Linked DNA regions of Homo sapiens: all the other regions are linked to region 3. Evidence: promoter capture Hi-C in 16 types of primary human blood cells and fetal thymus (Javierre and others, 2016). All regions are on one chromosome and are shown on one strand. The core of a region is centred on a gene start or on the middle of the fragment in contact, and the rest is flanking DNA. Distances in the headings are between cores, read along the strand shown. Region 1 has its middle 45 kb from the start of LINC01108. Region 2 has its middle 74 kb from the start of CD83. Region 3 holds the start of JARID2 (jumonji and AT-rich interaction domain containing 2). Region 4 has its middle 77 kb from the start of LINC01108. Region 5 holds the start of NOL7 (nucleolar protein 7). Region 6 holds the start of MCUR1 (mitochondrial calcium uniporter regulator 1).

The links. The method cuts DNA at HindIII sites, captures the fragments that hold promoters and counts their contacts. A CHiCAGO score of 5 or more calls a contact.
Region 1: a fragment that was not itself captured here is called in contact with the fragment with the promoter of JARID2 in region 3 in 1 of 17 cell types (naive B cells); the score reaches 5.7 in naive B cells.
Region 2: a contact is called between a fragment that was not itself captured here and the fragment with the promoter of JARID2 in region 3, in 1 of 17 cell types (fetal thymus). The highest score is 6.0, in fetal thymus.
Region 4: a fragment that was not itself captured here is called in contact with the fragment with the promoter of JARID2 in region 3 in 16 of 17 cell types (fetal thymus, naive CD4 T cells, naive CD8 T cells and 13 more); the score reaches 31.8 in fetal thymus.
Region 5: the fragment with the promoter of NOL7 here is called in contact with the fragment with the promoter of JARID2 in region 3 in 1 of 17 cell types (naive CD8 T cells); the score reaches 7.6 in naive CD8 T cells.
Region 6: the fragment with the promoter of MCUR1 here is called in contact with the fragment with the promoter of JARID2 in region 3 in 2 of 17 cell types (non-activated CD4 T cells and naive CD8 T cells); the score reaches 6.1 in non-activated CD4 T cells.

What each region holds. Positions count from the first base shown.
Region 1 is chr6:14,239,107-14,242,607 of GRCh38, reverse strand. No RefSeq gene overlaps it. Among named protein-coding and RNA genes, the nearest start is that of LINC01108, 45 kb to the left of the region's middle. RefSeq lists an enhancer at 1,052-1,121. The HindIII fragment of the contact is 249 bases long and covers 2,052-2,300 here.
Region 2 is chr6:14,189,838-14,193,527 of GRCh38, reverse strand. No RefSeq gene overlaps it. Among named protein-coding and RNA genes, the nearest start is that of CD83, 74 kb to the right of the region's middle. The HindIII fragment of the contact is 4,117 bases long and covers 1-3,478 here.
Region 3 is chr6:15,244,076-15,247,458 of GRCh38, reverse strand. JARID2 (jumonji and AT-rich interaction domain containing 2) reads right to left here and starts at 1,390. Exons shown (of 18, transcript NM_004973.4): 1 at 875-1,390. The coding sequence starts at 919. It overlaps JARID2-DT (JARID2 divergent transcript), which reads left to right and starts at 2,085. Exons shown (of 1, transcript NR_187237.1): 1 at 2,085-3,383. RefSeq lists enhancers at 1,313-1,412, 1,523-1,572, 2,762-3,275 and silencers at 2,183-2,442, 2,453-2,762. The HindIII fragment of the contact is 5,356 bases long and covers 1-3,383 here.
Region 4 is chr6:14,207,199-14,210,624 of GRCh38, reverse strand. No RefSeq gene overlaps it. Among named protein-coding and RNA genes, the nearest start is that of LINC01108, 77 kb to the left of the region's middle. RefSeq lists a silencer at 741-790. The HindIII fragment of the contact is 3,639 bases long and covers 24-3,426 here.
Region 5 is chr6:13,613,278-13,616,926 of GRCh38, reverse strand. It overlaps NOL7 (nucleolar protein 7), which reads right to left and starts at 1,592. Exons shown (of 8, transcript NM_016167.5): 1 at 1,303-1,592; 2 at 1,155-1,215; 3 at 406-464. The coding sequence starts at 1,568. It overlaps SIRT5 (sirtuin 5), which reads right to left. Exons shown (of 10, transcript NM_012241.5): 10 at 1,769-3,649. It overlaps LOC124901263 (a long non-coding RNA gene), which reads left to right and starts at 1,725. Exons shown (of 2, transcript XR_007059461.1): 1 at 1,725-3,649. RefSeq lists an enhancer at 2,210-2,379. The HindIII fragment of the contact is 25,604 bases long and covers 1-3,649 here.
Region 6 is chr6:13,812,333-13,816,184 of GRCh38, reverse strand. It overlaps MCUR1 (mitochondrial calcium uniporter regulator 1), which reads left to right and starts at 1,628. Exons shown (of 9, transcript NM_001031713.4): 1 at 1,628-2,170. The coding sequence starts at 1,756. It overlaps LOC107986571 (a long non-coding RNA gene), which reads right to left and starts at 2,375. Exons shown (of 2, transcript XR_001743986.3): 1 at 2,096-2,375. RefSeq lists an enhancer at 1,161-1,260 and silencers at 1,421-1,690, 1,771-2,440. The HindIII fragment of the contact is 5,544 bases long and covers 1-3,852 here.

The DNA of each region.
Region 1 (3,501 bases), core at 927-3,426, 1.0 Mb after region 3:
AGGCCTCCTCCTTTTTGTTGCTGGCAGATGGGCAGTTACTCACAAGACAGCCCTCAAGAGAAAGAAATTGGCTTTGCCACCTGGTGCTTCAGAAAAAAAGAAAGAACAAATAAGACTCCTGTAAATCTGCTAGCAACACCAAAGGCAGGCATTCTAGATCCTCCCCACGTGACCACACCCTCCCCTCAGGCTGACCTGGGCCTCCATTTTTGCCTAACTTCACATCTGTGGAAATTTGGAGTGTTCGTGTGTGTGTGTGTGTGTGTGTGTGTGTGTGTGTGTGCAGAAATTCATGTTAAGGATACAGCAAAGGGAATCCATTGACATTCTCTTCTGGAGTTCTGCATGGTGCTAAATGCACTTGGTATTTATGATTAGAAAGAAGATCTACTGCCACGGTGACAACCTTGCTCTCCAAATTGGCACGTTCAACCAGTCAAGAAGGACACATTTATGAGGTGTGAGTCTGAAAATGAAAATGAGATCAGTTTGGATTTATAACCTATCAAAATGATCTTGTTATTCTATAGTCATCAGTTGGGGACCCAACAGAGAATCATTCCTGATAGCCTGGTTGAGAGGCTTGTCTTTCTTTCTGAAGTGGTCATAGGTCAGTGTTTCCACCAGGAACTAGAGGCTCCTGTGTGTAGGTTCTTTGCACAGACTATACCAACTTTTAGCCTCTACTTAAGCAGCAGGGCAGGGCTGCAGGACGACTGGTCAACCCTTCAGAAGAAGTGAAGCAGTGCTGGCTGGAGAGGAGGTGCTCTGTCTTGCAAAGGGTGTCCAGCCTCTGCTTGAGCCCACGTGTGCCCCTCACATCTGCTGGATGCTGCCATGGGACAGGCAGGAATGGATGAAGAGAATTAAAATTGATAAAGATTATCTTTACCTTCAGTCATTCCTAGTCATCTCCAAGATCTAATCTATTGAATGGCTATTTCCATTGTTACCTTCTTACCATTGGCTATTTCGCTGCATGAGGAAGAATTTGGACTTTATGGAAATTTTTTGTCAAGTCATGATCCCCAAAGCTGAGAGTCCAGGACCAGAACTGTGCTTATGCTATACCTAACCCTTCTCAAAAGGAGGCCAGGACCCTGAATGTCTTTAAGATTGAACTGAAACAAAACTGCAAAGAGAATTTGTGTGTGTCTGTTTGTGGTTTGGACGGTCAGAGGCTGCATTTCCTTCCACCTGTGCTTATAAAGGGCATCCTGTTTCTTTCTTAAGGAGTATTTCATTTGTTGGTGAGAGGCGTTTGTTGATATTAAGGGTAGCCTATAAAATTAAGTGAATGGCTGGTTCCTCAGTTTCTAGCACATTGGTTCTTTATATACAGTGCAGTTATTCAGGGAGTTTATTTGGTTATTTGTTTTCTTCTTTATCTCAAGGGGCGTTTGAATGGGGTTGGCTCTCAGTTATTCAGGTTATCGAGTTTGCTCATTGGCAGCTGAGTTGAGACTGGAGTGGAAAGGAGATGGAAGCAGCCAGGTACAGTCGGTGCTGTTACAAAGCAGAGGACTTATCCAGCCCAGTGGTCAGGACATGAAGAGGACAGATAAAAGACCAGGAGGTGGTGTCACCACCTGTTGATTGATTTCATATGAAACCCCAAGAACAGGAAAAGGATAACCTCATGGTTGCACAGTCTAGAGTAGCCTTCACATGACTATAATGGAATATGCAATCCACATATGTAATTATGCAATCCACATATGTAATTATGAGCTTTCTGGTACCCCTATTTAAAAGGTAAAAGAAAGAAATAAAATTATATCAATAATATATTTTATTTAACACAATATATCCAAAATATCATCATTTAATGTTATATTTTACATTCTTTTTTTCATATTAAGTCTTCCAAATCTGGGGTTTATTTTTTGCTTATAGCATACCTCCATGCAGACTAGCCACATTCCAAGTGCCCAAAAACCACACGTGGCTGGTAGCCCCCACAATGGACAGCACGGACCAAGCAGATAAGGAGAATGTAATGAGAGATAAGTGGGAAAGGATCGTTTGTTTGGAGAGGATGTTGATAAGCTTTATCCATGTTATGTTTGGCATTTTGGTGGGATATCCGAGATGAGATGACCTGAAGGACATTAGAGATATAGGGCTGATGGTATAGGAGGGAGAAATGAAGAAGACTGATTGGCCAAGGCAAGTTTGAGTTAACAGAAAGCCTTGGTTACTATATTCTGAAAAACTTGTGGTGTGAACTTCTGTATTGACAGAGGCTCTAATATGAAGAAAGGGATGGTCTCCATAGCAAGCAGGCATCCCCTGAAGCTTTCGAAACTTCAAGTATTTGGGAATGCTATTGCCTATACCTTCTTTGTCAACCTCCAAGTCATTCCTCAGTATACATTAAGGACTCGGCTACGAGTTCTCTGTGTATGAACCATCCGACACTAGCTTTTAAGTTCCTGAGCTCTTATGGCCATTAACAGTCCTCTACATTCTTCTGTACCCATCATTTCCATGTATTCTTGGACATCATGGACATCATGGTACTTTTCTGCCTTGCAAACATTGATTCCTTTATTTGCCTGTGATATGTGTGCGCACAGACACACACACACACACACACACACACACACACACACAGAAACACAACAGTTTCCCAATACTTTTTTCCAAGGTAGAAATGCTTTTGTCTTCTATTATAAAAGTAGGACATACTGTTAAAATATCAAATAGTACAGAAGTATATATACTAGCAAATAAATGTACTCTTATTCTCAGCCATTTTTTTCTGTTTTTCTTATAAAATAAAGATATATCATACCAGACCATACCATTTTTGGCATCTGTTTTTTCTCTTAAATGTATATTTTAGAGATATGCCTCCACTTCTTCCTTTTTAATGAATATATAGCACTCTCTTTTATGGATGTTAAGCAATATATTTGTCTACTCTCTTAACCACAGAGATTTATGATCCTTCAGAGTTCTTTTGTGTCAGACCTTTTACATATTAACTCTGCACAATTGTCAGATTTTTTTCTTACAAATGTATTTCTAAAGTAAAATTGTATCATTAAGTACTAACATTTGAAAGCTCTCAATGAACGTTGTTAAAATGCTACATGAGGTTTATGTTCCTTTCAACTACTTCTTGAGAATTCCATTTCCTAATTCCACACTAATACTAGCCATTTTTATTCATTTTAATCTTGTCAGTCTGATAGGTAAAAAAAAAATCTCATTACATTTTACATTTCCACTTCTTTGATTACTAACGAAATAGAGCAACTTTTAATTATGGACTGAATATTTGCATTTCTTCTGTGAATTGCCTATTCATATTCTTTGCCCATTTCTATATTGGTGTATTTGTCTTTACCTTACTAACTCGATACTAATATTTTGTCCATAATATATGCTGCAGATATTCTTCCTAGTTGTTTGCTTTTGACTTTGTTTGTGGTATCTTTGCTTAATATTTCAATTTCAGGTAAAAAAAAAATCAGGTTAAAATAATTATATGAA
Region 2 (3,690 bases), core at 171-2,670, 1.1 Mb after region 3:
AATTTTCCTGGGTTTCTTGATTCTACGCCCTGTCTTTAGCTATCCCATTTAGTGTATTTCAAGGCGTGCTTTGCGGAGTGCCCACGTCGTGATCAAACCATGGCCCAGACCCACTGCATTGGAGCCTCAAGAGGTCCTAGGGAAAGGCGCTTTATAGTTACCTTCCTGCCTTCCCCTGACTCTAATGCACACTGAAGATTGAGATGCACTCTACTCATCAAATGACTCATTTACCTTTCTATCACAGACTGCTCCCCTCTTGCTTTTTCTTCTCAGGCATCACTTTTTCGATAGCTCATTACCATTCCCAAAAAGAACTCTAATAGTCTTTGGTCCTCCCCTAAAAGCCTTCCGTTCTCCTCAGTGTCACTCCCTAAACTCTTTCCCATGGGCAGACTCAAGGGCATTTTAAATTCTACGCTTTCCTTCTCTCCAACTTTAAAAGCAAATGCTTGTATCATTTAAATAATCATTCTTCCATCTCACTGAAATCTCTTCTAGACTCTTGGGCACACTGACAATCAGAGTACAAACCCAGGTTTTCTCCCCTGCTTTCAGGAGGCAGGGACCCTGGGATCAGTCCAGGTGGCTTCCTATCAGGAAGATGGTGCCTGCTACCTCCTCCCAGGCACACCACCACCATACAAGGCTTCAGAGCAGTGGGCCCCAGTCTGTCTCTTCCAGCCATTCCAGGGTGTATCCCCAAAAGGAGGATTGGTGGATTTGTGTTATGAACAGCATATGAGAATGCCAAACATGTGAATGTGCCAATCTGGTATTAACCCCCCACCAGTGTTCCTTTCTGCAGTTACACATGGATTACTGGCAGCCTGAGATCTGTTCCTGGGAGCAAGAGTCATGCTCTTCTGGACTCCTGGAGATAGCCAGTGTGGGATGGACAGATGCTTTCTCTCTGTCGAGTTCCCAGGCAGGGTGCTATCTACAGGTCATGGAGTGGGAGGGTGATCTTGGCTGGTTGGCTCTTCTCAAACCCCTCCAAAGCCCCTTGGGTAAAAGGAGTATTAAAAGTTCAAAGGACAATCGTGAACTTATTAAAAAAACTTTCAGACTGCTCATGAGTTATGAATATTAAAATTAGGATTGTTCCCATTTTCCTCTTTGTTCCCAGGGCAATGGCTCCCCCAGCTGTAAAATAGAGGCAGAGGAAGAGCAGCCTGCATTTAGGCATATAAGGGAGCTCTTGGTGCATTCCAGCTTGTTTCTGGAATTGCGGTATCTACCACCCCAGAGAGATATTTTTTTTTCCATTGTGGAATAAAATCCTTATTATTTTTCATACCAATCCCATGAGATAAGAAAAAGAAGAAGAAAAAGGAAGAAGAAGAGAAGGAAGAGGAGAAGGGATGAAAAGGTTTAGGGTCTGCAATTTGACCCCACATTCTATTTGGGACGAGATGAATTATGGAGGAGATATTTTAAGGTGCTGTTTCTGACCCAAATAGCCAATGGATATCCTTCTTTCTTGCTTCCACTGCTTAAGCAAAAACCAGCTGTGCTCAGCATCTGGAAGAGTGGTTCTGACCTTGTTTTATCCTAGTTGATTCCCACTGGCTTTTATGTTTTCCATAAATGATTGAAGAAAAGTTCTCAGTTGGAAATAGCAATAAAAACTTCCATAAATTCTTGGTGAGCACCAGTTTCAGGCAGCTCATTGGATTCTCACTCTGCACAGTCCCAAATTCTGTGAGACGGACTGTCCAAGATGCAAGGAAGGCCTGGATCCGGTCAAGGAGGAAGCCCAATAGCCCACGTCCACTCCTAGGTCTCACTTCTGGCAGCCACAGAATTCCTAGGGCCTCTTCTCAGCCACAGGTCCCATGTGCCATTCCCTCTAGGTTATTTTTCATCTCTAAAACTGTATTTTCCATCTATTAAGTGAGGATAGCAATAGTATCAACCTCTAGCCACTTAGGACAGCACCTAGCACATTATACAAATGCATTTTGATGATTATCAATCATTTATTTAATTTGTAATCAGGAAAATAAGAAATACTTATTGAGTGACTATGATAGGCATTTTACCTTCTTTGTATTGTTTAATCCTCCAAACAGCCCTACTAGGTAGAAACGATAATTCCATTTTACAGAAGAAAAAAATTGAAAAACATTTTGTGAAATTAAGTAATGGACCCAGGGCCTCTCAGCTTATAAATGGCAATGGAGGGGCTGTGCTAAACCATACCTGTGCTCTTTCCAACACTCAATAGTACCCAGTATTGAGAGCCTACTGTATGTTCTAGGTGCTGGGGGTACAGAAGAGATGACATGGAGAAGCGCCTAAATCTCACGGATAAAAGTACCACTTTGCTATAATTCCTAAATCCTTTAATGATTGGTGGTGAGGTTGTAATGAAAGAGCCGCCATCAGCCGCCTGTCAACTCCCGGGAAGGTGGTTTCCCATCCTCACGCCTCCCTACCCTCTGCTTATGTGAAGTTGCCTGCCTCAGTCTCTGTCACAGCTTTAATACTCTCCCTGCCCTGGGTATTGTAATACTCTCAGCTTCATTTCTATCTGTTGGCAAAACAAGAGCTCTGTTCAGACGAATTGCCTATCAAATTGGCTCAGAAAATTCATGTTTTACTTGGATGTGAACCTTCTCAGAAAGCCTGGCTGGAGGATTACTGCTCCCAAGGGCCCCATGTCTGAAAATTGGAGAGAAAGAAAGACAACACTCAACACGCATTAACAAAAACTGTGAGAAAACCAACCCAAAGTTTACTCGACCCTATCCAGCCTCCAGCTCACGCTGCACATGGCTTGAGCCACCCTTCCTTCAGAGAGGGAGCAAGATTTCAGATCTTCCAACATGTGCCTTCCTATCACATCTCCAGGGGCCCATTTGGCAATTTCAACTTCAACTAATAACGACATAAGGGGATTTTGCAAATTTATAATCTCCAAAATGTACATCAGCCAATATTCTATTTAATTTTTAAACTCCATTTCTTTCATTAAGGAGCTATTTTGGTTCTCAAGGGGGTCACTAGTTTTGTCTCCATTTTGACTAATTTAACACATATTATCAACTACTAGCTAAGGTTGTCTGAGCTGATGGGAAACTTTTAGTTCTGGCTTTACCCAGCCTTTCACCAGAATGAATCTTGTCAACTCCAATCGCATTTAATGGACTTTAAATGTGTTTCCTATGACATTTTCCAAAACCAAAATAAGCGAAAAGTGTTTTGCATTTCCCATAGGGTAGTGCTAACCTCACTACAAAATTTAGGGCCAAATTTTATCCACTTGAGGCTCTTTTAATAACCCAAAGCTATGGTCCTAGCTGAATCAAACCAACATTTATCTATCCCAAATATTTATCTTTCCTTCTACTATTGCCTGATATTGTTTACTTTTTGGTCAAGATAAGATTTTTCCTTCTGCTCTTTAGCAAAAGGGGCCATAGGCTCAGGGACAGACAATTACACTGTCAAAACTGTAAACTCGGTATAAGCTTCTGAAAGTAATGGAATGGAATTGTTTTAAGACCTTTTTTCCCCTAAATGGTTTCTGAGGGGACATAAGGTAAAAGGATAAATGTGAAGGCAGGATGGTTTTCCGTGTGACTGATTAGGAACAGAACATTTGTAAATTAATGCTATTTTTCAAAAACGGTAAATGGGGAATGGGATTGAGAGGTGTCTATTTTGAAATTGTCTTTACAACAG
Region 3 (3,383 bases), core at 141-2,640:
TTCCTCCCTCCCCTCAAACTTAAAAAAAAAAAAAAGCCACCACACACAAAACAAAAACACTCCCCATGCCAATCAAAACGTAGCTGTACTATGCACAAAACAAATTTAACTATTCCAAGCCATTTAAATCTAGGAATAATCACCCAATTTCAGAAGCCCAGTTAACAGGGAGAAATTATTTGTAGTTACTTACATATGCATTCACGTACACACTTAAAAACATTAGCCATAGTGTGTGTCCTTTTCCCCTACAACTGGAAACCATGAATTTTTTAAACAAAACCAGCCTCATTATTAAAGTCAATCCCAACAAATGCATTCGCTGTAACATGATTCCCAACTGGTTTATGTTGCAAACCAGATAAGCCAAAACGACCACAGACATTAAATTTGATGTGCCAGTGCAAAGAGAAGATCGCCATAATCGGACCCTCGATCGCAACTTAAAGGGCTTCCAACACACATGCGTTACACGATTTTTCCAAATAACATTAATAATAATAACACAGGCTCATTTGCATGCAAAGTGCAATACGGGGCCAAATCCGCTTGAGAATGCAGTTTAGTTACATTACCGCAGCCACCCCCCACCTCAAGCTCCACCAAAATCCCTTGCCTTTCATCTAAAAGTAGATTATGGTTGTGTCATTCGAGGTCAATTTATTCACTTGAGGTATCTCTACACCAGTCTGTTTTTTCAACCAAACTAGGCAGACACCACTTTGCTTGAAAAGCCCTCTTTCAGAAAAAAAAGAAACAGCCTTATCGGACGCTGTGTTTAAAACCCTTCAGAGGCAGAATTATCTATAAACTTGACATTCACAGCCATTGCTTAAAACTGCAAGTCAAAGGATGTGTTGTTAGGAGCACTTACGTATTTCTTCTGAATGATATTCCTCTTGGGTCTTTCCTTGCTCATTCTGAGATCCAAATGCTGATTGCAAAAGGGGACAATTGCTTCATGAATTTAAAGCCGTCAGAAATTTGCAAAAAAATATCCTGGTGGTTTTTATTGTTGTTGGTGGTGGTTGATCTTGTAATCCGACTTTTCTTCCTCTTCCCCCAAAGCCAGATTCGCCTTGAAATAAATCCGAAATTGGGAAGGAAAAAAAAAGAGCCAAAGACGAACGAAGCAAACAAAAAAAAATTCACTTTAGTAAAACACTCATAATGGAAAATTTCCCCCGAAACACATACACACACACACAAAAAAAAACCGACGCCCTTCACTCCCCCCCCTTTTTCCTCCAAAAACTACATCAGCGAAACGTGAAGGTCCTTAGTGTCTGATCCGTAGTTACATCTTGGAAAAGAAAAGGGAAAGATAAATAAAAAATGTTGGAAGTCACGTTTGTGCTGCAGCAGCAGTGCGAGCAGAAGAGTCAACTCCAGCGGCGGCGGCGGCGGCGGCGGCAGCACCACAGCGAGGGCTCGCCGAGTCTCTTTTTTCCAAGCCCCCTAACCAATGAGAGAGAGGCTATCCAGCCCAACTTTAAATGGACTCTGCTTTTATACAAGTTAGGGCTCCTCGGATAATTCCCCGCCGGGCGCCAGCCGAAAACTCCCACCGCTCAGCCGCCAGGCGCCCGCTTAGCCTGGTGCCGACCGCCCCTGGCCCAGTCCAGGGCACCCCCGCAGCCTGGCCAACCAGACACCCGAGCGACCTCGACGAACCCCTCCCAGGCAAGCCCTCGGGCGTCGCTCCCACGCCGAGCCCAGGCGTGGAATTGAGAGAGGCTCCCTAGCTCAATGCATGGCACGCTCCGTCGCTCCACCTCACCCCCTTTCCCCTGCCTGCCGCTCACCCCACGGCCGCCCCACGCCAGCCCCCGCCACTGCCTTCGCGTCTACCTGCAGCCGGGCTGCTGGGTAGGAGTGCCCCAGGACGCCCGGCCCCGGGGAGAGCCGCCTATTCCCGGGGCACCTTAGAATGGTCCCCTTGATCTTCTGGAAGTTGTAGTCCCCCGACTACAAAATGGCTATGGCCACGGAAGCTGGGAACTACAATTCCCAGCCTGCCCCGCAAAGCCTGTCACTCAACTCCCCTCCCTCCTCCTCGCCCCCTCCCCCTCACTGGCCGTGCCAACAAACGCTTGGACGTGTCCCGCGTGCGACACTGCTAGAGGCTGGCTCGGGATTGGCCCGCGGAGCGTGTGGTCCGCGAGCGAGGAACTCCCCACGCCGGCCCTCCTCCGCCCCCCGGGCCCCGGCCCCCCTCCCCTGGCGGCCGCCAGCCCCCTCCCCGCGCGCCCCGCCCCCACCCGCGGCGCGAACCGCCTGTGGAATCGAGGAATCGCGCGCGTGCGGCCCGGAGCCGCGGGGGAGGGACGCGAGGCTTCCCCGGGGAAGGCCTCGGAGCGTGGCGGTGAGGGGGGCGGTGTCAGGGAGGGGTTGGAGCCCGTCCTAAGGAAAACTGGGCCACGCACCAAGAGGAATCCTCGGTGCGAACTAGTTGATCGGCGGCGCCTGCTGCTTGTGCCGTGCAGCCGGTGTCACCTCAGGACAGCGCCTCGCGTCTGTGTACAGAGCGTGCTGCGGGCGCCTAGGGTAGTCCGAGGTCACCCCTCTCCGCGCCCCGCAGTCGCGCACGCCCCCACGCGCGGGGTGGGCGGTGGCCGGGGGTCGCCGAGTGGAAAGGCCACGCCCCCCCACGCCCGGGCTCGGCACGCTGCCCCTGGGTCGCGAACGCGCCTCCGCTCGACCCGCTTGGAGGACGTCGCTGGTGGCCCAGGAGTGAAGCCCCGGCGGCTGCCTCCTGAGAAAAGATAGCCGTGTTTAAAGAGACTGAACGGGATCTTTGCTTTGCCGGGCGTATTTTGTGATAAAATACCACAAAATGTTGAGACAAAAATGAGTGGAATATGGAGACCGAGCCGCACAGACACGCAATTGTAAGGAAACATCTCGAACACCGAGTGCCAGGAATATCAACTGTCCGGGCCACGCAAGAGCCTGCTTTTTACCTGCCTCCAGCCCCCTGTCGTGCTGGTTTAATCGCTGAAACAAATGAAGTAGCAGGCCCTGGCATAGCGCTTTGGGCCTTCGCCTTATTAACAACTTTGTCAAGTCTCGCATCGCGATTCTGCCTTGTTAATTTCCTTGTTTTTCGCTGTGGTTTTGGAGAAGCAATGTTTTCCATGATCTCTCAGGCTAGCCTCGGAATAAAACGTGGCAGAAGCGCTCCCGCGAACACATACCCATATATTTTATTCTACCTATTCCCTAGAGTCTGCTAACTTCAAAAGTCTAGATACTCACACAGCTGTTTACTTGCAGCAGTATTTGAAGAGATAACCTTGGTGTCTAGAAAGGTCTCAGAAACTGGAGGTAAGAGACCTGGATTCAAATCGCGCCTTGGCCACTTCCCAAAAGGCAACCGAGAG
Region 4 (3,426 bases), core at 594-3,093, 1.0 Mb after region 3:
AATTGGGTCAGAAAGAAAAAGCTTCGTTGGTTTTAATTATTTTAAATAGAAAAGCCACATCCAAAAGTACCAATAATGATTTTTACAGTAAACCCACTATGTTGACATAAACCAGCCCACCCCTGAACGCACAGAAGACCGTAGCACAAACCGTGAGAGGCGTATTGAAGGACTGGGGCAAAATCAGGACCGACAGGCAAGCGTGGTTTCCATCAGGGTCTTACTCCTCTGGCTTCCTAGTTTAGGCAGATTTCACCCTGTTAATAGGGTCCGTGGATCGGTCTCTCTTTCTCTCCTCTCTCTCTAGCTCTCTATCTCTCTCCCTTTCCACCTCGTGTTTCATTCCTTTGAAACAAATCCAGGGAGCAGATGGCCTCAGAAGGGTATCTAATCCATGCCTGGCCTCGAGGCACGTACTATAAGCTGTGATACCGTGCTAAGGTGTTATTATAGAGACAAAAATATCTCAGACTGCAGGATCTAGCCATCCTATTCTTAAAGTTCCCTAGGGAAAGATGTTGTACAATATTCTTTGATAACCTACTACAAATGCTAACCACTTTAAGTACAATATAAGAACCTTCTGATCCTAGGTTTTATTTGTTTCTATTTAAACTCATTCAGGGTCAGGCTACCCAGAGGGCAGTTGAACACCTGTCCGGTGGCTTATGGGAATGCCTTGCACGATGTGCACTTCCCTCCACCAGGATCAGTGTGTCTGCTGACACTGGGGACCATGCCTGAGACATAGGTACAATTGGGCTGTGCCAGGGCAGCTCAGAGAAAGTGATCCACTCTGATTCAGACCCTGCCAGCTGAGTTACTTACTTCCCTTACTTCCTTTTTTTTGAGATGGAGTTTCGCTCTTTTTGCTCAGGTTGGAGTGCAATGGTGCAATCTTGGCCTACTGCAACCTCCGCCTCCCAGGTTCAAGTGCTTCTCCTGCCTCAGCCTCCCGAGTAGCTGGGATTACAGGTGCCCACCAGCATGCCTGGCTAATTTTGTATTTTCAGTAGAGACGAAGTTTCACCATGTTGGCCAAGCTGGTCTTGAACTCGGATCTCCAGTAATCTACCCGCCTCCGTCTCCCAAAGTGCTGGGATTACAGGCATGAGCCACCGCACCCGGCCACTTGCTTCTTTTAGAGAGCAGGCTTTGTGCACCTACCAGTGTTGAAATACACTACCTTAATGGTTATGCTTCTCCAAATTTGATATAGTATTTGATTTTTAAATGTACCATACTCTTGAGTTCCTGACCAGTACACTGTTTGAAGGATGTCACAAGGACGTGCATTTGAAAGTCTGAATCCACAAATATGTATTGTGCTCTAATTGCCAGGCCTGGGCTTAGATACTGGGGATACAGCATTGCAGCAGGGAATTTGCAGAATGAAATGGAACCGTGAAGAAAGGAAATGAAAATAAATCACCCTGTTTCCATAGTCACCTCCCCCACACTAGTGGACTATTCTCTCTTAATCGGCTCCCTCAAACTCCTGCCTCTAGGACCTTCATTCTCTCTGACTTCTTTGATCATGGAGCAGTAAGATCACCATATGTTGGATATTGTTAAATAACATGATATGTTGGGAAAAGTCATGCACTAGGAATGAAAAAAAAACATACAGCTAGCTTCAGCCCTGGCTCTGCCACTTGACAAAATCCATAACTTTCTACAAAACTTTAAGATCTGAATCTTGGAATCTTAGTTTCCTAATCCCTAGAATGGAATAAAGAGTCTTACTTGGCAACTCCACAGGTTCAAGATTCCAGGCCTCAGTTTTCTCATCTGTAAATTGAGGGGTTTGACCTAGATTTACAGCTTGCAAATTTTCCTTAGAAGTGATTCCCCATTTATAACAAAATCCAACATAAAACCCCAACATATAAAACAGATAAAGACAGACTTGCTTTAATGGCCCTGAGGCAGAAAGCTCTGAGTCCTATATACTCTCTTCTCCTACCTTTTAAAGGCCTTGAGGCATCTGTGCAGAACCCTGGGGTTTCACTGAACACAGTTGGAAACTCACTGTGCTAGGTGATTGTTTTAAAGTACCTTCCATTTCTAAAATTCTATAAATCAAAATTTCCTAACATTGTATATTTCTATGATGAGATTTAACCCGTTTTCTTTCTTCATTTATTTAATTATGTTATAGGAGATAGTCGCAAGCTAAAACCAAAATATCTTTCATCACTCCCTCCCTATTTGTAAAGCCAATCTCTCTGCCACAGGGAGGAAAAAAGATGTTGATGGAACACGTATGGTGTAATGAGAAAAACACAATGGGGATGAGAAGATATTAGTTCCAACCTTGGTCCTGCTTTTAACTAGTTCCATAACTAGTTAGCTTGATCAAGGAATCTTATTAACCTACCTAAATCCAGAAAATTAAGAGGTTGGGTGACTTAGTAATCACAGTCATGCACATGAGCATTGCGGGAGCCTGTGCCCTCATGGCCTTCCTTAAATAATTCAATTCCAACTCAGCCTACAGGCTGACTTGCTTTATCAACCTTTCTTCAATATATATATCCTCACCCCAGAGGGAATGAAGGGTGAGAAGACAAATTAGGTTGTAAGTGACACCACCAGGACATCAAAATAGAAATATCAACTCAATCATTGTTATGTTTGCACAGATGGTTCAAGCCCACAGCACGCCTTGACCCCAGCTCACCACGCAGGAGGCACATCTCCATTAAGACAGGGTTCATGCAATATACACGTTCATAAGGGCAAACTACAAAATCTTAAAAACCCCAGAGTTTGGAGAATGTTTAAAGGAAACAGTCTGGGTTAAGGACCCAGGACCTGGGGTTCAACCAAAAGGAATGACCCCACAAAGGACAAACAGTATGATTCATTGCCTCTGAGTGTGCACATCCTGGGAAAAGGCAACTTTAGGGGTGGACACAAGAACAACAGCTCTGGTCATGGCTGTGACTTGGTTATAAGTTAACTTTATGGGTCACTGAGTGTCTGGAAACAAACTATAAAAAGAAGAAAGGGTGGCCCAGGCAGCTTTCTGTTGGAAATGGCTGTGACCAGTTGCTTCTGGAAGGGAGATGTATTGACTGCAATAAAACTTGATAGGCTCAGCACTTGTCTGTTAAGGCTAGAATCGGAAGTCAACTTTGGACCTGAGTAATTGGTATAAATTTGTGTATAAGGGCAAGACAGAAGGGATTTTATTCCAAGTGGTCAACAATATGGTGTCCAGCTGCTGCATATGATCTGCCTTCTCTCTGACCTCTAATCCCACGAGACTATCTGCATCATCTGGGGTAATCCTAATATCCAAGCAAGTGGATACACTTTCACTGTCACCACACTGGCTTTTGTTTTTTCCTTTAATCTTTGCTGTTCTTAGGAATAGCAGAACATTTAAGGTAAAAATAAATAAATACATCATAGAGACTT
Region 5 (3,649 bases), core at 343-2,842, 1.6 Mb after region 3:
GGGAACAGGAAGGACAGGTTGGTGGCAGGTAAGGCAAGTATGGGACAAATCAAGTTTTCAGAGCCTGTGGATAAGTGCCTGCTACCCCACTAAATGATTCAAAACACTTTTTATTCACCACCACCCACTATGCCCTAGTACAATGACAGGCAGTCAACAAAATGTACTGAATGAACACAATGGGATCAGGAATTCAAAAGCTAGCTATGGGAATGAACAAAAATAAATGGTAAAATAAGAAGTAGAACGTTACCTCCGTCTTTCCCATCAAATTCATATACCAAGGTAGCTTTTGAATTTGGGTTCTACAATTCCTTCAGTTATATGGATTCAAATAAATGTACCAGTATATAATTCAAAGATGGGTGTATATAAGCAAGTAATATAAAAAGATCCATTACTTACTTAGTCTGTGAAGCTGTGGTTAACTTCTCCAAAATAGTGTCTGGAAGGAGTTTTCTTTTCTTTTGGAATGAAAACGTTTAAAATTAATAGAAAGTCATGTACATAGTATGTCCGGAGTTGCTTCTGAAGTTACCGCTTTTAAGAATGCCCTACATCTAGGCAAAGAAATGAATTAGGCTGGAAACTGCCCCCATACCTCTAAGCTATGGGAAGACCGGGTCCACAAAACTCCACATTCTCTGAAAGACTTGATGAAAACTAGAAAGGGTGCCCACGGTATTCTAACCCTCAGGTCACTGTTATAAATTGAAAGCAGTTAAGTAATGTCTGCCTGGAGCCAGCTCTCTGTGTCGAGTATCAGACAGCAAAGCAACCATACACTAAGTCTGTACAGCCCTTACAGTTTACAAATCACCTCATTTAATTCTCACAGCAACCTCTTATTTTCAGTTGGTGGACACTAAAGGAGACGAACTTTTTTTTTTTGAGACAGGGTCTCGCTCTGTCGCCCAGGCTGGAGCGCAGTGGTGTGATCTCGGCTCCAGGCAGCCTCGACATCCCGGGCTCCGCCCACCTCGTCCAACTAAAGTACTGCCGCGCCCGGCCCGAGCATCTTTCCACCACTGTCAGAGGCAATCTTGGTGACTGTTTCCCCACTCCAATATCCTGCCAACCCAAATTACATCCACCATAGGAATTCTCCCTGAGCCGAGTTGTTTTAATAAGACACCTCCTCCCTAGCCTCTAACCTTCTGTTCGATGAACAGCTCCTCGCGTCGCTTCCTCTTCTCCTTCAGGAGCGTTTTATCCCTGGGAGGAAGGGTGATAAGTCAGCAAAGGGAAGGACAAGCGGGACGAGAAAGGGCGGTTCTCCCCGCCGGGCAGCGGGCTCCGAACCTGCGCACGGTCTCCCGCACTCGCCGCTCCTCTTCTCTCGCTTCCGCCTGGGCGCTGGCGAAAGTCAGCTCCTCCGGGGCCTCATCGTCAAACTCATCGTCCCCTTCCTCGTCTTCCTCCAGGGGCTCGGCGGCCGCGCCGCTGCTGGGCTGCCCGAGCAACAGCCCGTGCTCCGCCTCCTCCTCCTCCGAGGCCAGCTGGCCCTCGTCCACCATCGCCTCCGCCGACGCCGGGGCGCGAGACGCTCGCGGTCGGAGCTGCACCATGGCCCACGCAGCGCTAGACCGTCTGACCTCTGACCCGGAAGCAGCTACAAGCGGAGCGCAAGCCTACTTTCATCGCCCCCTGCAGGTTCGGAGGTCCTCAGGACGGGTGGGGCGCATGCGCGAAGGGAGGAAGGGCGTGGCCTGTAGGCAGTGGGCGTGTTTCTTTCCACGTGGCCAGCGCAGGCCGCCTTGGAGCCGGATGGACCCCACGGAAAATGCTCTGCCGGCGAAAGCGGCTGGCAATGGGGTTGATTTCAAGGCAGGGAAGAGCCATCGCGCTGCCCTCCTCGGCTGGGATGGCGAGACAGGGCTGGCACGGCTCACGCTGTCCGGTGCTCAGAAAACCGGTAATCGCGGGCCCGAGGCGCTGCTCGCCGCCGTTTTTTGGCCCTGGGTTCCGTCGAGTGGATCCAGCTTGTCAGTCTTTGTGTAGATTTGGCTGCGTTCGCTCCGCACTTCGGAGGAGGTGGCGTTTCATGGGAAGAAATGCGCTCTAGCAGATGGCCGCCGTGGCCAGTCAGCCCTGCTGCCACCGACGAAGACGCGGGCGACAGACCTGGACTCTAAAGAAATCTGCACAGACGTGCCCGGCGCCCTCGGCCTTCCCAGCTCCGCGGCCGCAGCGACGCCGGTTAGGATGTCGGCCCTGTGGGAGGGGCGCCCTTCCTGGTGCCGGGCCCTAACCCACGACCTGGAACAGCAGCTGGCCCGTGGCAAATGCTGAGCATATCTCCTGAAAGAATGGCTTCGCCGGTCCCTAGAGAATGCACCCGAGTTTTGTGGTATATACACATACGTACTTTTTTTCCAAGTATATTTTATTTCTTGGCAAACATGGCCCTTTGTGATCGCTGTGTTTCTCTCCTCCCATCCATTATACAACACTAAGTGATTCATCATTCTTTGAACAAATCAAACTGTTTCACACCTGCCATGCATTTGTACCGACCGTGCTCTTCCCTCTACTGCCGCAGCCCCCCAGGTAGAAGTCCTTTTTATACTTCAAAAATTCCCACCCAGGCAAATTTCAAGCACCTTACCCCTACCCCATCCCACTCTGCCCATCTCTAATTGCGCTGGTCTGAACCCGCACAAATGTCTGTGTAGTTTCTGCACTTCATAACAGCTTATATGACAGTTGCTCCAGCCATTCTGTGAACCCCTGAGGGGAAGGGCCAGGTCTTGCTAGTCATTTTATTTCTAATGTCTATCATCTGGTAGATGTTTAATAAATGCTAAGTTGAATAATTCTATCTTACACATATATTGTATTTTTAATTCTCTTTTCATGTCTTCTGTTTTAGAAGCAATTCTCAATTTAAAAACGACAAAACCAAATAGGAACAAAAATGATAAAACTTGAAAACAACAACAACAAAAAAAGCTGCTGAACCAGAGGTTCAGTATGAGAGGAATTGCAAAGAACAGTTTTGAAATCTCTAGGCCTTAGTCAGATAGAAATTACAAATCAAAAATATAATCAGACTCCCTGAGACACTAACACTAGGAAAATGAATAAAGTTAACTTGGAGCAGCCCAAGAACAAACTTATAAGTGCATGATGGTATTTTATGTGCAAAACTGCTTTATAAGTACTATAAGACTATTACAGGTATTACCAGTGCCCTCAGTGTAAACTCCTTGGCCCACCCATGTAAAGTGTACATCGAGCCCTCAGGGTCCCTGACTGGTTCTCCAGCCGCCCCATAGGCTATGAGCATCCCCGTTCCCTACACAAAGGACCACTGGGATTTATTAAAGGTTATGCCTTGCAATGCAGTACAAAGTTTTATATGATAGTGTCTTGTTGCCTGTTTCTACAAAAGCCAAGGGTGTAACATTAAATGCAATTTTGCAAGGGGCTGAGGTGATGTGGTCCAAGTATGTAATCACTTCAGGGAGCCATATGTGACCTTCATACACTGTTGATAATGGCCATGCCTCCCAGTCAGGCCTGTGACACCTGCTGGACAGCAGGCATTCCAAGGCCCCTAAGCACTGAGTTAGCTGGTAAAGGTTAAGGAAAAAGCTGTATTCTTACTACTTTACTCCAAGGTAGTAAAGTGTATGGAAGATGTACC
Region 6 (3,852 bases), core at 379-2,878, 1.4 Mb after region 3:
ATTAGCCAGGCGTGGTGGCAGACACCTGTAATCCCAGCTACTCAGGAGGCTGAGGCAGGAGAATTGCTTGAACCCGGGAGGCAGAGGACACAGTGAGCTGAGACTGCACCACTGCACTCCAGCCTGGGTGACAGAGCAAGACTCCGTCTCAAAAAAAAAAAGAGAAAATAGTTGCCTTGGGGTGGTGGTGGATTGTCTGGAAAACTGGCACAAAATAACTTTCTGGAGCAATGAAAATGTTCTAGATCTTGACTGGGTGGTATATACAACTGCTAAATGTCATCAAGTTGCTAAATGACATTTATCAACTGCTAAATGTCACCTAAGTCTGTGGAATTTACTGTATGCAAATTATACCTCAATTTTTAAAAATTACAAAGGACTAACATTAAAGTTTGTGCCACAGTTTAATCGTTCCTCTAATGTTGTGCACTATTTTCCCATTTTTTCACAATCACAAATTATGATACAATGACTATCTTTTGTGCATATGTGAAATTACCAATATTAAGCATTTTGACCCATAAAAATGACAAGTTTGTATAGTCAAACCTAGTAGATATTTAATATTTTGGATTATTCCCATTATCCCCATTTTTAGTTAGGTGACTTGAGAAAAGTTTACAAATTTTTGTTGATACTCATTGCTAAACTGCTTTTTCTACCAATTTTATAAATGTATACTCCTTTTACAAAAGTGTCTTAGGTTGGTGCAAAAGTAATTGCGGTTTTTGCCATTACTTGCAATGGCAAAAGCCGCAACTACTTTTGCACCAACCTATGACTTGAATCCTGTTTTTCAGTTCTTCAAATTTTGATAGACACTTATCTTGCACATCCATATGCACGCTCCTCTCTTCCCAGCACTTTGTACATCTCTCATGGCTCATAACACATTCTTCCATCACGTATGTGTACACATATGGCTGTATAGGAAAACAGCTTCTGGAGGATAAGAACAATTTGTTTTGCGGTTTTTTATTTTTAATAAAATCTCCTAGCTTGGTGCCTTATGCATTTCATTTATTTATTCAACTAACATCTTCCAAATTCACATAAGGGACCAGTTATCTGTGAATGGTGTAACAGGCCTTCAAAAAGTCCACGAAACTAAACATTACCAGTTTCAAATATACCCGACAGGTCTCATTTTAACATTCATGCCCCACGTTTTAAGTTCCCAGATTGCTACCTTCCCATGTTTTTGGTGCTCTAATCTGGAAACAAAAACTCTGAAAATTTAGTTTTGAATGTATTATGTGAGGGCCTTTCCCTGGGCCCTGCTAATAATTCCTTAAAATGCTCCCCAGAACCACATGTTTGGGGACTTAGGATAATCAGTGAAATCTAGGGCAGCCTGTCGGTCTGAGACTTTTCACAGGACTCTGAAGGGCACCGGGGTAATTCCTTTTTAAGGACAGCAGTGCAGTGAAAATGCAAATCGTGACAGCAACAAGCTCCTTCCAGTTCCGGAGTGCCCGCAGGCTCCTCCCGGTCGCCGCCGTCGCCTAGCGAATGGGGTGGGGGCTCGCACGGTCCCCGCATCTCGGAGCGCCACGGCGGGCTCCTGCCGCCCCGCCCCACCCCACCCCCGGCGCGCGTCCCGAGCCCCGCCCGCGCGCCCGGCAGGAAAGGGCGGTCCTGCGCTGTGGCCCACGCTCGCTCCCGCTGTCGGACTCTGGGCCTGGACCGCGCGTGGCCGGCGCCAAAAGCGAGAGGCATGAGCGCGCGCCCGGGCCAGTGAACTGCTCGGGGATGGACTGCGGCTCGGTCGGCGGCCAGAGGACCCAGCGCCTGCCCGGCCGCCAGCGGCTTCTCTTCTTGCCCGTGGGCCTCAGCGGAAGACCGGGCGGCAGCGAAACCTCAGCACGCCGCTGCCTCTCTGCGCTCTCCGACGGTCTGGGGGCGCTGCGCCCTCGCGCCCCGGCGGCCCGCGGCGGCGTGTCACGTGCCTCACCGCTGCTCCTCCTCCTGCTAGTGCCCTCCCCGCGCTTGGCCGCCGCAGCCCCGCGCCGGCAGCTCGGGGACTGGGAGCGCTCGCGCCTCGGGTATGCCGCACCCCCGGCCGGGCGCAGCAGCGCGTGGAGGTGCTCACCGGGCGTCGCCGCTGCCGCCGGCGCCCTTCCCCAGTACCACGGCCCGGCGCCTGCACTCGTTTCCTGCAGGAGAGGTGAGGCCCGGGCGGGAGAGGAGAGGGGGCTCGTCTCGCGGGGTTGGACGGCGGGGCGGGGATCTCAGCTACAGCCTCCCCGAGGAAAGGCCCGGCAGGCCGGAGGGCGGGTCCTCCAAGGCCACCGGCATCTGCCCGGAGCGTGGGTCGAAGGTCCGGGCCCGCCCTGCTCGGCCGCGGTGGCGGGGCTTAGCCCAGAAGAGACGAATTCCTGGGAATCCCGGGCGCTAAAGTTGGAGGGAGGTGCGTGCTGGGGCGGGGAGTTGGTGCCCGCCCACTCCTAGGGTCTGCTTTTGGGCGCCGCCTTCCAGGAGTTCTGTTTGGCAGCGCCCAGCCTGTTGGGCGTTCAAGGGGAAGGGGTGTGTATGTTTGAGCAGCAAAGCTCTGGGAAATGAAGGGATTGCTTTACAGTTTGATTTCAAATTCTGATGGAATCATTAATTCGTGGAGTCCTAGCGTCTGCCCTGTCCCTGGCGCTTTTCTAGATGTGTGAGATATATCAGTCCACAAAATCTTCCCTCTGGAGCTTAATTCTAGCAGAGCAGACGCAGTAAATATGTGTGTGTGGATATACGTATGCATAATTGATGTATATATAATTTATATATACAAATAATTTTTATATATTCGTAATTCGATGCCTGGTATAGAAAAATAGGATAAGGCTTGGGAAGTGGAATGGGTCTCCAGTTGTGAATTTAAATAGGGTGATCAGAATCGATTTCATTGAGAAGGTAGCATTTAATTAGAGTCATGCATCTCTTCAGGACAGTCGCCTACTGAGAAATGAGTCATTAGGCGACTTCTTCCTTGTGTGAATATTGTAGAGTGTGCTTACACAAACCTGGATGCTACAGCCTACTACACACCTAGACTATCAGGTAGAGGCTAGTGCTCCTAGGCTACAAACCTGAACAGCATGTTACCGTACTGAATACTAGAGGCAATCTGAACACAATGGTATTTGCGCATCTAAATGTAGAAAAGGTAGAGTAAAAATATGTATTATAGTCTCATAGACCACTGTCGTGTGTGCCCCTCTGTCCTGGGCTGAAAGGTAGTTGTGGGGCTCATGACTATTTAAAGGAGGTGAGAGAGATCACTGCCCTGGAGATGAGGAAAGTAAATAGAATCAATTTATTAGATAGCATATTGTTGATTAAAGAAAAAAATCATTTCTGATAATCAACAGACTTGGCAAAATTATCACTTTGGGCAGTCTATACATATTCATTAGTAGCCATCACTAACTACACATTTTTCATATTTTCTTCAACAGATAGGCCCACTAAATGTTGACCATATCTATAATTTAAGAATATCATTGGCTGGGGTAAAAACTGATTAGTAGAGCAATAAAGTGAAGGAAACTTTATATACAGAGAGTGGGGAATGAGTAGTGAACTCGGTGTCACTGTCCTTCAGTAATTAGGAGTCGGAGATGAGTTTGGTCTTTATTCTGTATTTTGCCTTTTGTTGCGCTTTTTCTGACAAGCTAGTAATTTCCAATTTGTTTTTCTCTCAATGCAAGAGTATAGGGCAAAAAGAGAGTGTTCTTTCTCACGGATTTGCTGACCAATCGGTAAGGTGGTACTGTTGTTTTAGTGTCAGCTATCTCATTCTTCAGTCATCATAAAAAATGAGTATGGATGCATAAAAACAGAAGAGAGCAGAGACACAGT